Regions from separate parts of the Homo sapiens genome. Here region 1 is linked to region 2. The links are contacts of gene promoters, found by promoter capture Hi-C in blood cells and fetal thymus (Javierre and others, 2016). All regions are on one chromosome and are shown on one strand. The core of a region is centred on a gene start or on the middle of the fragment in contact, and the rest is flanking DNA. Distances in the headings are between cores, read along the strand shown.

Region 1 (6,857 bases), core at 1,554-4,053, 310 kb after region 2:
AGCTTTCCCCACTGAACCCTGCCCAAATTGCAAATAAACAAAATGCTAAGTTATGGAGTGGTATATTCCAAAATGCTAAGTTATGGAGTGGTATATAGCAATAGATAGTTAAAATACTCAGTTTGAGTAGGATTCCAGTGTCATTTGCTGCTGAGAGGGTTTTAACGGAAACACCACCCATGTAGTCTTAGAGAAATTATAATATCTGCCTGCGATTCAGTTTCTTTAGCTGTACAAAAGCTGTAGTTGACATTCAGGATACATTTAATTTTCTTCCAGTCATTGGGTTGTTTTGGGATTAAATGAAAGAATGCATCGAAAAGAACTAATAATGCTAAGGATTCTGACTGACTCCCAGTGACCACTGCTTCCCTACTTGCTCCATTGAAATCCAGTAATTGTCTTAATTGTCTCCAGCATTGCCGTGATCTTCCAGCTTCATAATTCATCAAAAAAGGAATAAAATTAATTCAGCTAGTGAATTCTTGCTGACTCCCAGTGACCACTGATTTCTCAAGTGGGTAAAAGATTCATTAAATGAAACTTCCAGACTTTTGGCATGGATAGACAAAGCCATAGAAAGCTATGCAAAGCTTATTTTTTCATTCTTGCATTTATTTCTTTGTTTATTCCTTGTCCATCTCTTTCATACTTCCTTATCCCATCCCACCTCCCTCCTCTACCTGTTACCCCCAGACTAGATAAAGTTTTTCTGGCCTGAGCTAGTGAGTAGATTGGCTCTGCTTGGTTCTAAGAGTAAACTTCACCCTGCTTCTCTCCTGGGATGCCTAATCATAGGAGAGGGGAAGAACAGAAATCCTAGATAGGTTTGGGGTTCTAAATGCAGGTGGGATTTAAGCTGCCTCTCTCCAGAAGAGCCCAAGAAAGGCAAACAGTAGAAACTCTATTTGGGATTCTGAGCTCAGGGAAGGGACTATCGGCTAGACTGCAGACTATAAATAGCTATGGTGGCCTGGGCCTGAGACATCTTCACTGGGGGTTCCCTATACCCAGCTAAGTATAGGGACAATAGATAATCTCCCAGAACAAATACAGTCCAGACATGGTGCAGGACAGCAAACACCTCATAGAGTTCCTGTGGGTCTGGTATGATGTGGAGCACCAAGAATCCCAGGCTCCTAAGAAGGTGCCCGGGTGAGTCAAGAGAGCCTCAGACCCAACAGAGTGCAGTGTTCAGGAGGAGGGATTGAGATGGAACAGGGACTCCTCTTAGAGGCCTGCAGCTGCACCCCAGCCTGAGCCTGGAAATAAAAAAAGTCTGAGTTCCTTCAAGAGAAATTCCAGGCATCTAGCTAGCCTTAAGAAGTACATAAGCAACTTGCTAAGCAAGAAAGTAATAAATAAATAGCCAAGGAAGTTAGAGTCATGAGATGTTTTGTTCCCTATAGAAATAAAAAAATAACATCTTTTTTTTTTTTTTTTTTTTTTGAGACGGAGTCTTGCTCTGTCATCCAGGCTGGAGTGCAGTGGTGTGATCTCAGCTCACTGCAAGCTCCACCTCCCGGGTTCACGCCATTCTCCTCCCTCAGCCACCCTAGTAGCTGGGACTACACGCGCCCTTTACCACGCCCGGCTAATTTTTTATTGTATTTTTAGTAGAGAGACAGGGTTTCACCGTGTTAGCCAGGATGGTCTCCATCTCCTGACCTCGTGATCTGCTCGCCTTGGCCTCCCAAAGTGCTGGGGTTACAGGTGTGAGCCACCGTGCCCGGCCAAAAAATAACATCTTAACATATGTCCGTGAGTTGTTCTTCAGAAACCTGACAAATGAACCCACTGGCATGTAGATGGCCGTTCTTTGTTCTGAAGTTCTTCCTAAGGGGCCTGGAGGAAGTCACATCCATAAGCCAGAGCTAACATTCTTGTCTGCTGATTCCAAATGTTTAAACAAAGCTCACCTTCCTTAACTAGCTACATATCAGAGAACCTTCGACTCTACCTATGACCTGTAAGCCCCATGCTTCAAGATACCCCACCTCTTTAGGTCAAACCAATGTATAACCACCATATATTGATTAATGACTCCTGTAACCTCGGCCTCCCTGCCTTTAAAACCCTTTACCTGTAAGCCATAAGGGAGTTTGGGTCTTCCCAATTCTCCTTGCTTGGCACCCTGCAATAAATGCTTCACTTTCTTTTTTTGCAATCCTTATGTCAGTGCTTGGCTTTGCTATACCAGGCAGGCAGACCCAAGTCCAGTTTGATAACAGAATGACTCAGCTGGGATTATGTGTATTAACAACTAAAGACCAGGTGGGAATGAGGACTTGCTAGGAGATGCCAGTAAACACCAATCAGGAATTCCAGCTGCCCCCCTACTACCCACCTCCACCACCATTACCAGTGCTAGATACTAAACTCTGGTGCAACACTAGGAAACTGGGAATCCCTGGGAAAGTGGGAATCCCTGATTGACTAAGATTAAATGGCTACCACTGAAATCAGAAAGGGGGCTCATCAGAGAAATTAAGTTCATTTGTAGAAAACTACATTTTTGTATTTTGCATGCCTGAGTTTGTGCATCAAACTAAGATCTGAAAGATGTATAATAATTAGGGATCAGTCTAATGTATAAGGAGAGGAAGAGAATTCCAGACAAAGGGAGGAATTCCTGTTTTCAGAGAATTACATAGTACATCTGAATAACACCCCATCCAAGAGGGTTGGTTGGTTTGTATGTTTTTAATGCCATCACAGGGACAATTCCTACAATCTATTGAAACCCAGTGGTTTCTGGTTGGCTAAGACAAACTCTGTACTCTATGCTGTTATTTGCCTGACTCAACCTTGCATAACATTGGGGACCATTTTAAATTACATTGTTTAGATACTGGAGTCTCTGCCTGTTCTTCAGTGAGCCTGTTCGGAGTGAATTGCTCACCTGGCAATCATGTTTGTAATAGACAACCTTGGCAATTATGAATAAGATGGAAAGAGACATCTGGCTCTATTTTAACCAATCAGAGTCTCCCTAGAAGCCAAGTTTAGTGGCTAAGCAATGGCTAGTTATTCTCAGCGTGCAGCTGGAAGTGAGGTGCACATAACTCCAGGAGCTGGGGGTTTTTCTTCCACTCAATAGATAAGTAAAGAGAGGCAGCCTGAAGAGAGTGAAAAAAGAAACAGATGGTCAGGGAGCCCTAGCATCAAGGAACCATCTGGCCCCAGAAAGAAATAAGAGACTGAGAGGGTGGCTCAGCTCCAGACATTTCCTCACAGGCAGACCCTGTATTCCTGCCCTTGGCTTCTGGGACACACCCTGTATGTCCTTACTTACATCCCTGTCCACCCACCCCCTTTCCTTACAATATGAATATATTCATATTCCCAAGTCCATTGTGTTTGGAAACCAGAATCATAGATTACTACATAAAATCTTAACATTTTTGTCTACAAACCCACTGTTTTCTTCTTTTTTAACCTTTTAAAAAATGTTCTTTAATGGCATATAATATTTGTAAAAATTTTGGTGGTACATTGTGATTTTTTATACATATGATGTAGAGCGATCAGGTCATGGTAATTAGCATATCCACATCTCAAACATCTATCATTTCTTTGTGTGAATGTGGGAACATTCAATATCTTCCTTGTAGCTACTTGAAACTATATATTATATTATTGTTCAAGTGAGTCCCATTACTTCCAATGAAAGAGTTTAAAGCTAAGATAATTAGTATTTGTACGCCTTTGTTTTCAGGTGGGGCAGCCAGTAACAGCTACGTGCCCAAGCAATGTTGCAAGATCTCAAGTTAAGATTATTCTCTGTTCAAAATGCATGCCTGTGACTCAGCAGTTTTCTTCTCAAGAGTTCCTGCAAAGTCTTAGTAAATCTCAGCAAACTGCTGCCCTCTCTGTGTTCCCCATTAAATTAGGTTGGCCACTTCTGCAGCCTTACTCTGCCTTGCTTAGGGCACACACAGGTGAGTAAGTCATCGAACACATGAGGATTTAATGATGAAGACTGACCAAGTCTCTGTCCACTCAGAGCTTCTAGCTCTTGGACGACACAGTTAATTAAAGACACAATTCTGTTTAAGTGTTGTTTAGCCTTGGGGGAAGAAAGGATGTCAGAGAGGCACATGGCAGAGGGTGGCTAACTCAGTCAGGGGAGGTCAGAGGGGTAGGAAAGGAAGCGATTTGTCAAGAGGGAACACAATCCTGAAACATTCAAAGTCATCAGTTACATAGAACTTACGGTCTGCCAGACATTGTTCTAAGCATTTTACATACATAAGCTCATTTTATCCTCACATGGTAGTGTGGTAAATACTATTACTAGCCCTATTTTTGTAGATGATTCAAGTTCAGCACAGAGAGATGAGTATGTCAAAGAACACACAACTGGCAGAGGCAGAGCCAAGATTCAAACCCAGGCAGTTTGAATAATGAATGTTTATTTATTCAATTAAACAGCTACAAAATGGAAAAAGCATAACAATGCTTGTTCTCCATCCACCACCCATGTAGGTCATTTTTCTTCTGTTTTTGGTAAATCATACAGCCCAAAATGTCACCATATGGGTCATTTTTATTTCTAAAATGTAAATATCTTTGACTTCAAAATGTATGTCTAGTGTGACCCAACTGTATCTGCACAGTCAATGTCAAGATTTCCAAAAAGAGCATTTTGAGGTAGTTCTGCCATGTTATCATATCCAGATAATAATGAATAGCAATCACATTATTATCAGCAGTGACCTCTACACATCGGGGAGGAGGAAAAATAAACAGGATCATTTCAAGGTTGCACCAGCTGCCAGCTGAAATTACCCCATTAAAGACAACTCCAGAGGAGCAGTTGCTGGGTGACAAGAGATGCTTGTTTACATCAAGTGCTCCTTTTAAGGAAAATCCTTCCACGCACATTTCTATTTCCTTATTTTTAAAATTGATTTTGTAGCTTCAACAGAATATGATTGCTTAGTTAATTCATTTAACAAAATGTACTATAGCAGTTACTTGTGAAGGTATTGAGAGATTAATTCTAGTATGAAAGCTTATCCCTAGACATCCCAGTGCTTGAAAAAAAAAAAGAAAGGAGAAGCTTAATTATTAGTTTGGGTGGTATTTGGCTACATTATATTATGTACTAAAAAGAAGTGGCTGTTTAATGAGTCGAAGATTTCCATTTGAGGTGATGAAATATCTCTGGAACTAGATAGTGGTAATGGTTGCATAACACTGTGAATATACTTAATGACACTGAATTGTACACCTTGGTTAAATTGCTAAATTTTATATATATTATACCACAGACTTAAAAAATGAATATATGTGCACACACGTGCATGTAAACACACACACACACACACAAGCACTCATAATTCTCCAGGGTGACCACAGAAGCATGAGTTGATATGGAGCATCCATCAGCCTGACTGATTATAGCATGACTCAGAATTAAAGTTTTATTGTGTTAAGTTACTTGTCACAGCAGCATAAACTAGCCCATCTTGACTGATGTAAGTTATTATATTGCACTTGGTTCACCTAACCTTTTTTCGATCCTCCTTTGCACAAGGCACTGGGAAAACAAAGATGAAAAGCTTCAAGAAGTTGAAACTAGCAAGAGAGATACATATGTTAACCAAAAGATGCGCTTAAGCATGATGGTGCCATAATAGAGGTAGATTATGAGTTACAATGAAAGTACAAAGGCTGGAATGGCCTAGAAACTCAGAGGAGTGTACTCAAGAGGGAAAAGGTTGAACTAAATTTTAAAAAGGTGTGTAGAAGTTTGCCAAGTAGAGAAAGGGAGAAGTTCTCCCCAGATTGATGAAAGAGCTTGCCCTCTGTGCAATGATACAGACATGAAACAGCCTGGCACGTCACAGGAAATGCCAGTCATCAGACAATAGAGTGTGAGGCGATGAAGATGGACTAGTGCTAGAGATGGACTAGAGAAGTTGGCAGGAGTCTGGAGTTTGGACCAAATCTTGTAGCCAGTCCTTTCTAACCATTCCATTCATACTATACATGGAAAATGAAAACACATCGGGCACACTGGGCTGCAACACACCTGTCCAGCCACGGCCAACCTTGGCACATCTTAATCCACTGCAGCAAATTAGGGCACACCTTACGGTAATTACTACTATGGGTAATGGAGAGTCATTGAAGATATCTAAGCAAGAAAACAATAGGATCAGATTTGCATTCTAAATCATGGTTTGGAAGCTAGATCAGTATGAAAAACTAGATTAAAGTCAGAAAGATCCATGAGGAGGCAGTGGCAACAATCCAGAGATGGCAGAAGCCTAAATCAGAATAGTGGCTGTGAAATTAAAAGAGTGGAAAGATTGAAGAGATAGTTTTAAGGTAGAATTAACAAGCCTTATGACTGACTGGATGTGGAGGGTGAAGGAAGATACAGAGTTTAAAATGGCCCCCAGCTTGAGTGACTAGTAGTGGCCCCACTGGGATAGAAAATAGAGGAAGGGGAGGACTGTGTAGACAGCAGTCAGTTCTGTTATGGTCTTGTTGAACTGATGTGCCAGTGAAGCTACCTGATAGATGGTTAAATGCCAGGGAAATTACATATGGGCTCAGAGAGAAGACTGGAGTAGAGTTAAAGATACGGGGGTCATGGACAGATACAAGTGTTAGAGCCAAGAGAACAGATGAGCTTGTTGAGAGAAGACATAATTAAGAAATGAAAGGGGCTGAGGGTATTTAAGGGGAACACAGAGGAGGGAAAGCCTGTGGGAAATAACATTGGCATTTCTTTGATGCATAATGGGATCTTCCCAACTGACTGAACACTGAGACTGTTTGAAAAGAGTGACTCTGTAATCTTTCTAAATCTGTCTAAATGATCTTTAAAATCATCTCTGGGA
Region 2 (6,764 bases), core at 2,541-5,040:
AAACACAAAGGAAGGATGGCCATATACTTTATCCTCCAAACCAGGGCAATTTGAGAATGAAAAAGGTTCTAATAATAATTTCATAAACTGGTGCTGGCCATGGTGGCTCATACCTATAATCACAGCACTTTGGGAGGCCAAGGTGGGAGGATTGCTTGAGATCAAGAGTTCAATACCTGTCTGGGCAACATAGCGAGACCTCACCTCACAAAAAATAAAAAAAATTATCTGGGCATGGTGGTATGCACCTGTAGTCCCAGCTACTCATGAGGCTGAGGCAGGAGGATCACTTGGGCCCAGGACTTCAAGACTGCAGTGAGCTATGCCCATGCCACTGTACCCAACTTGGGTGACAGAGTGGGACCTTGTCTCCAATAATAATAATAATAATAATATCATAACTGGGACTGTCAGCAAGCAGAGTTGTGTCCATAATCCATATACAGTGTTGACCACAGAGTCTGACCCACAGTGTCCACTCAGTGACCACTGTGCGAAATGCTTTACATTAAGGAACTTCATTTAATCTTCCCCAAACCCTACGAGGTCAGTACTATCACTATCCCCTTTCATATATGGGAAGACTGAAACTCTAAGAAGCTACAGTAACTTGCCCAAGGTCACACAGTGAGTTGTCCTGCCAGGGCTCTGGTCCCCAAAGGCTAGTGCCCACATGGGCTCGGGTACTGCAGGGAAATGGCACTACTCAACACCCATCCGGCTCTGCATGAACTGCTAGCTCTACTAGGTAATTCACAGTTCCAGCATTAGATTCATGACATTGTACCTTACAAAGCTGAGTGTTTAGGAGTTGCTGTGATAAAAAGCAGGAACTGCATGAAAATCAACATGGAGCAGTGCTCAATATGATTTTGTTTTGAAAAACTGTGCAGAGTACAACAAGTGCACCCAGCCCATCAGGAAGCTATTGTTGTTGGTTTTTTAAAAAAAATTTTTTGAGACAGGGTCTTGCTTTGTTGCCCACATTGGAGTATAATGACCATAGCTCACTGTAGCCTCGACCTCTCAGGCTCAAGCCATCCTCCCACTTTAGCCTTCCAGGAAGCTGGGACTATATAGGTACAAGCCCCCATGCCCAGCTATTTTTTTTTTTTTTTTTTTTTTTGTAGAGATAGGATCTGGTTATGTTGCCCAGGCTAGTTTTGAACTCCTGGGATCAAGTGATCCTCCAGCCTCAGCCTCCCAAAGTGCTGGGATTACAGGGGTGAGCCATTGCACTTAGCCTCACTATGGTTATTTAAGAATGAAACAACAAGCCGGGTGAGTGTAATCCCAGCAGTTTGGGAGGCTGAGGTGGGTGGATCATTTGAGGTCAGGAGTTTGAGACCAGCCTGACCAACATGGTGAAACCCCATCTGTACTAAATTATAAAAATTAGCTGGGTGTGGTGGTGGGTGCCTGTAATCTCAGCTACTCGGGAGGCTGAGGCAGGAGAATCGCTTGAACCCAGGAGGCAGAGGTTGCAGTGAGCTGAGATGGCACCACTGCACTCCAGCATGGGCGACAGAGTGAGACTCCCTCTCAAAAATTAAAAAAAAAAAAAATGAAACAATAAAATTTTTACCCCAATTTATATGTATTATTATTTTCCAAGATAGTTACTAAGTTGTTAGGACATAAAGTCTTATTAAGTTGTTTGGACCCAACTACTTAATAAATGAAACGTTTCTGTTTGGTTTTTCTTTTTGCCTAGGGGTGCCATGAAGGTGCAGTGAATGGAGAAAGTTTATGAGCCTCTGCACTCAACATTTTGCCATTGGTAGAACCCAGGAGGTTAATGTTGGAGAAGGCCTTTTAGTGCAAAGAGCCCACCCTGGTTGTACATTCTAGGGAAACCTCTCTGTGTCTATCTCATCACATCAGCCTGTGATGTAATCAATCTCTCTCCGTCTCTGTCTGTGCTTTTCCCTCTTACTTTCTCTCTCTCTCTCTCTCTCTCTCTCTCACACACACACACACATACATATACCTATAGTTTCCTTTCCCTCACACAAACACTAATATCCCCTGACCCTAATCAGACAGTTGCCAAAACCCCATTTGTCTGAGTTCCCTTTATTTCAATTTTTTGCCCTTTTTCAACTGTTTCAGGAAGCAAACCAGTTCTGTTTTTCAACTTGAACCTAGTCAATGTTCAAGCTGAGCATCTACTTCTCAGGTTAGAAGTCACATCATCAGCTCAGACCTGTTTGATACCGTGAAAAGCAGACACACAAATGGACCCCCTCCCCAGACAGTACTTCAGACTCTGGCGCAACCAGCCTGAAGTACTCAGGTTTCTTTCTTTCTTTCTTTCTTTTTAAGATGGTGTCTCGCTGTGTGGCCCAGGATGGAGCGCAGTGGCCTGATCTCGGCTCACCGCAACCTCCACCTCCCGGTTTCAAGCAATTCTCCTGCCTCAGCCTTCCAAGTAGCTGGGATTACAGGTACCTGCCACCATGCCCAGCTAATTTTTGTATTTTTAGTAGAGACGGGGTTTCACCACGTTGGCCATGGCTGGTCTGGAGCTCCCGACCTCAAGTGATCCACCCGCCTTGGCCTCCCAAAGTGCTGAGATTACAAGCATGAGCCACTGTGCCCAGTCAGTGCTTAGATTTCTTAAGACCCAACCTTAAGAAAGACAATTAGAAGACAGAGTGGGCAACTGGGAGAGGCCTGGTAATATGGCAGAGGGAAGAGGGGGTGAAGGTGTGGGTGGCAGGAGGGTGGCTGGTTGGGGAAGTGGCCACTGGATCTTAGGCCACAGGCATACTTTTCCATCTCCAGCTTCCTCATTTACAGAAAACGAGACTGCAGTGGTGTGATGGAAATGTGTGGGACGGGGACAGGTGACTGGCTTTCATTACTAACCAGAGGACAGCTTAGACAAGTCACTCTGGCTGGGCCTCAGTTTCCTTATCTCTAACGGGACTGGATTGCCCAGTGCTCCTCAAACTGTGGCACCTGGGGCACATTCATAGCTTGTGTGTGAATCTGCCAGCCTTGAAATATCTGTCTTCCTTGGATGGCAAGTTTATTAAAAATTTTGGAAGGACTCACTCTTTTTATAAGAAAGCATTTATGTCATTGTTCAGAATGCAAAATGTATATGCATTTTAGTTACAATAACTAATATTTGATAACATTTAACGAGTAATTACTGTGTGCCAAGTGTGCAAAACTCTAGGTGAGCCTCACAATAACCTAATGGGGTATTATTATTCCCATTTTATAGATTAAAAATCTGGGGTAGAGGGAGTAGATAATCCACCTAAAGACCTGTTATTAAGTAGTGATAAAAGATCTCCACTCCCTCTCTCCCCCACAAAAAATATGGACTCATTACAAGTTGTTTTAGGATCTACCTCCAGACCCATGGAGTTTCTTTAGTAAAGCCTGAACGACACAGGCCAAAATAATCTCCAAAGGCCAGCTCTGACCCTTTTAAATCAATTTTAGCTAAATCCGTTCACAAAAGGCTTCGCACATCCAGTGTCCCTGAAAAATAAAGGAGGTTGGGCAGGCCCTGCGGGGGCTCGAGGAATTCGCTAAGTGAGTTTTCTGGCTTCTGGATACACTTTCAAAGGGCCAGAGGGCACGAGGCTTCCGCCTTGGCCGCCACCTCCCCGGCCAGCTGCGGTGTTCGCGGCCAGTGTTGCCGGGCACTTCCTGGTTCCCGCGCGCCCCGGGTGCAGCTCCCTGCACCCAGTGCTGGCGCTCCTCAGAAGGGAGGGGGCCAGAGGCGAGATGTCGCAACCGCCTCCCTCCCTCTTTCCCCGCCTTGGCACTCAGTCGCCTCCCAGATGAGCACTCTCTCAGACCGCTGCGGGCCGCCAGGCGCCGGGAATGTCCCCTGAATGCGCGCGGGCAGCGGGCGACGCGCCCTTGCGCAGCCTGGAGCAAGCCAACCGCACCCGCTTTCCCTTCTTCTCCGACGTCAAGGGCGACCACCGGCTGGTGCTGGCCGCGGTGGAGACAACCGTGCTGGTGCTCATCTTTGCAGTGTCGCTGCTGGGCAACGTGTGCGCCCTGGTGCTGGTGGCGCGCCGACGACGCCGCGGCGCGACTGCCTGCCTGGTACTCAACCTCTTCTGCGCGGACCTGCTCTTCATCAGCGCTATCCCTCTGGTGCTGGCCGTGCGCTGGACTGAGGCCTGGCTGCTGGGCCCCGTTGCCTGCCACCTGCTCTTCTACGTGATGACCCTGAGCGGCAGCGTCACCATCCTCACGCTGGCCGCGGTCAGCCTGGAGCGCATGGTGTGCATCGTGCACCTGCAGCGCGGCGTGCGGGGTCCTGGGCGGCGGGCGCGGGCAGTGCTGCTGGCGCTCATCTGGGGCTATTCGGCGGTCGCCGCTCTGCCTCTCTGCGTCTTCTTCCGAGTCGTCCCGCAACGGCTCCCCGGCGCCGACCAGGTGAGCGCCCCTCTGTGTGTGCCGGGCAGGTGTCCTGCGCAGGCTGGGAAGCGGGGCCCCGACGGAAGCTGGGATGAGGATGATCAAGAACAACAATAGCCATTTATTGCACTTAATCGTTGTGCCAAATCTTGTGCCCATGGCTGTGAAGTTTAATCTCTTAAATCTCACTACAACGCTGTGCACACGCCCTCCTAAATGATGTAAGTGGAGTCCCCCAAATTCTTGCAAAATGCAATGACTGTTGCGAGGTTAATTAACGAGTAGTTTAGGAGCGAGACGGAACTTTGGGGGTGCAGGGTGGCCAAACACTTTGTATTGAATCATGATTCCTCGCCAGGTGCTACAATACTGTTATTATCACACCCATTTCACAGATGAGAACCAGAGGCACACCGAAGTGTATAATAACTTGCCCAGAGTATTTTATCCGTAATTCGAGGAGGAGATGGGCTCCTTCCAGAAGTTTACCCGTAATTCAAGGAGGAGTTGGGCTCCTGTCCAGGGTTGGGTTATGGTCCTGCTTTGAAAGCGCGCGGACAGGCATGTGAGACCCGGGGACCCCAGATGCAATGCTGTCTTTAGGGGACTTGTGACAGAATTCCCTTCCGGGGTCTTCAGTTTTTTCAGCTGCAAAACGGAAGGATTACACTAGACCTTCGAGGTGTCCTGGGCGCCTGAAATGTGCAGATTACAGAGGCTGGACCGACGAGCTCTGTTTTACATAGCGGGTCAATAGTTGTCATTATTAGCTCATAGGGGTGGGAGTGACCATGATCGGAATAAGGTTCTGCGGATAGTGCAGGACATTGGCTCTGTTCCCCTCAAGTCCCGCGGTCCGGAATCCCGAGCTCGGGTCTTTTTCTCTTGCCGCTTTGCCCGGTGGTTGCAGGGTTCGTGCGCCGGGATCCACACGGAAGAGGGAATCTAGACGCGGAGTCACGGTGGAGGACAGTGGCCGCCGTCTGGCTGTCTTCCCAGTGTGTTTGGTTCTCCATGCCTCGCGGAGAGAGATAGAGAAAGGACTTAGGTCTGTGCGCTGGGGGCTCAGCCTCCAGGAGCTTCTGCCCGTGGCTGGGTTCTTGGCCTCCCCTTCCCTGCCGGGGTCACTGGTTTTCCGGCCTGGAACCCCCTACCCTTAAGCTCCCTCTCCACCTAGGAGTGAATATGGGGCGCCCTGAGTAATCGTGGCACAAACAGGAATCACGGTCCCAAAGAGGGACCTTCGAAGTGGTCAGAGAGGGGAGTAGGGAGGGAGAAATGACATGTCACCAGGGGAAGGCTTGGTTATGGAGATGCACACAGCCCACCAGGGACACCCCCTGACTGTGTGACCCTCCAGAGCCTGAGACAGAGAGGTGGAGCTTCTCTGGGGGTTTTCCCAGACCAGTCTCTCACACAGCCCTTTTATTGGGGGTAGGATGGATGGAGTCTGCCTCCTGTATCCTGTGCGAGATTTTTTTTTTTAAACATAAATCAAACTTAAACACTTGTTTCTAATGCTTGTGTGGAATACATTGTGGGGTGTTTGTTTGTTTATGAGCTTGAATGACTAATAGGCAGGAGCCCCATCAAGCCTGTGGCACTTGATCAAATAACATGCAAGCTTGTGGCCATGTCCACTCAAGTGGGGCCCAGAGAAGCCAGGATTAGCTGAGCTGGTGGGTGCCATTTATGGGCAGACCAAGGGCTCTGGCTTAGTGGACAGGCTTGTTCTTAGCCCACACACACCTGAGAATCAAGGTGGGCCACGCAGATGCCTCTAAAAGCAAGGATCAGGAGGGGGCTGGGCTTCTGCCATCAGTTTCTTTGATTTTTTTAAAAGTTATTCTCTCAGTGAGTCACAGTACTTCTATATTTCTCACAGAACTTGAGGTATTTCACCTCATTTTCTTTCTTACAGGAGAAAATGATGTTCAGGGAATGAAAGACCAGATAGAATGTATCTTGAAGGTATCTTAAGTTTTCAGATGTGTATTTTGTGCCTCTCCCTTTTTTCAGTGATTTCAAGTATAACCCTAATTAATTGGCAAATGACATTAAAAAATAAGACTCTTGTCACTTCCCAGCCAGAGCCCAGACTAAAATTGTGTGCTGACAGGGACACAGGTGACTGTTTGGGTGAGAAGGCCTTGGCATAGGCAGGGGCCTTCCATGTCTTGGCCACTTAGTACCGCACCACTGTTAGGGAATCTGGGTGTGGTTAGAGCCCTCTGTGGTGCTTCCAGAGTGGCCACAGTTGTGCTGTAAGGTGCTTCCGTGGAGGTCTGTGTTGTGATGGCTGGGCACACAGACCTCCTTTGTTTTAATGTTGAAACACTTCCTTGGTTTTAAGCAGCTTCGGAGAGGGA

What was found. The method cuts DNA at HindIII sites, captures the fragments that hold promoters and counts their contacts. A CHiCAGO score of 5 or more calls a contact.
Region 1: a contact is called between a fragment that was not itself captured here and the fragment with the promoter of FFAR4 in region 2, in 2 of 17 cell types (total B cells and neutrophils). The highest score is 6.8, in total B cells.

What each region holds. Positions count from the first base shown.
Region 1 is chr10:93,869,763-93,876,619 of GRCh38, forward strand. No RefSeq gene overlaps it. Among named protein-coding and RNA genes, the nearest start is that of SLC35G1, 21 kb to the right of the region's middle. The HindIII fragment of the contact is 4,424 bases long and covers 592-5,015 here.
Region 2 is chr10:93,562,875-93,569,638 of GRCh38, forward strand. It overlaps FFAR4 (free fatty acid receptor 4), which reads left to right and starts at 3,791. Exons shown (of 3, transcript NM_001195755.2): 1 at 3,791-4,413. The coding sequence starts at 3,847. RefSeq lists an enhancer at 3,193-4,031. The HindIII fragment of the contact is 8,015 bases long and covers 1-6,017 here.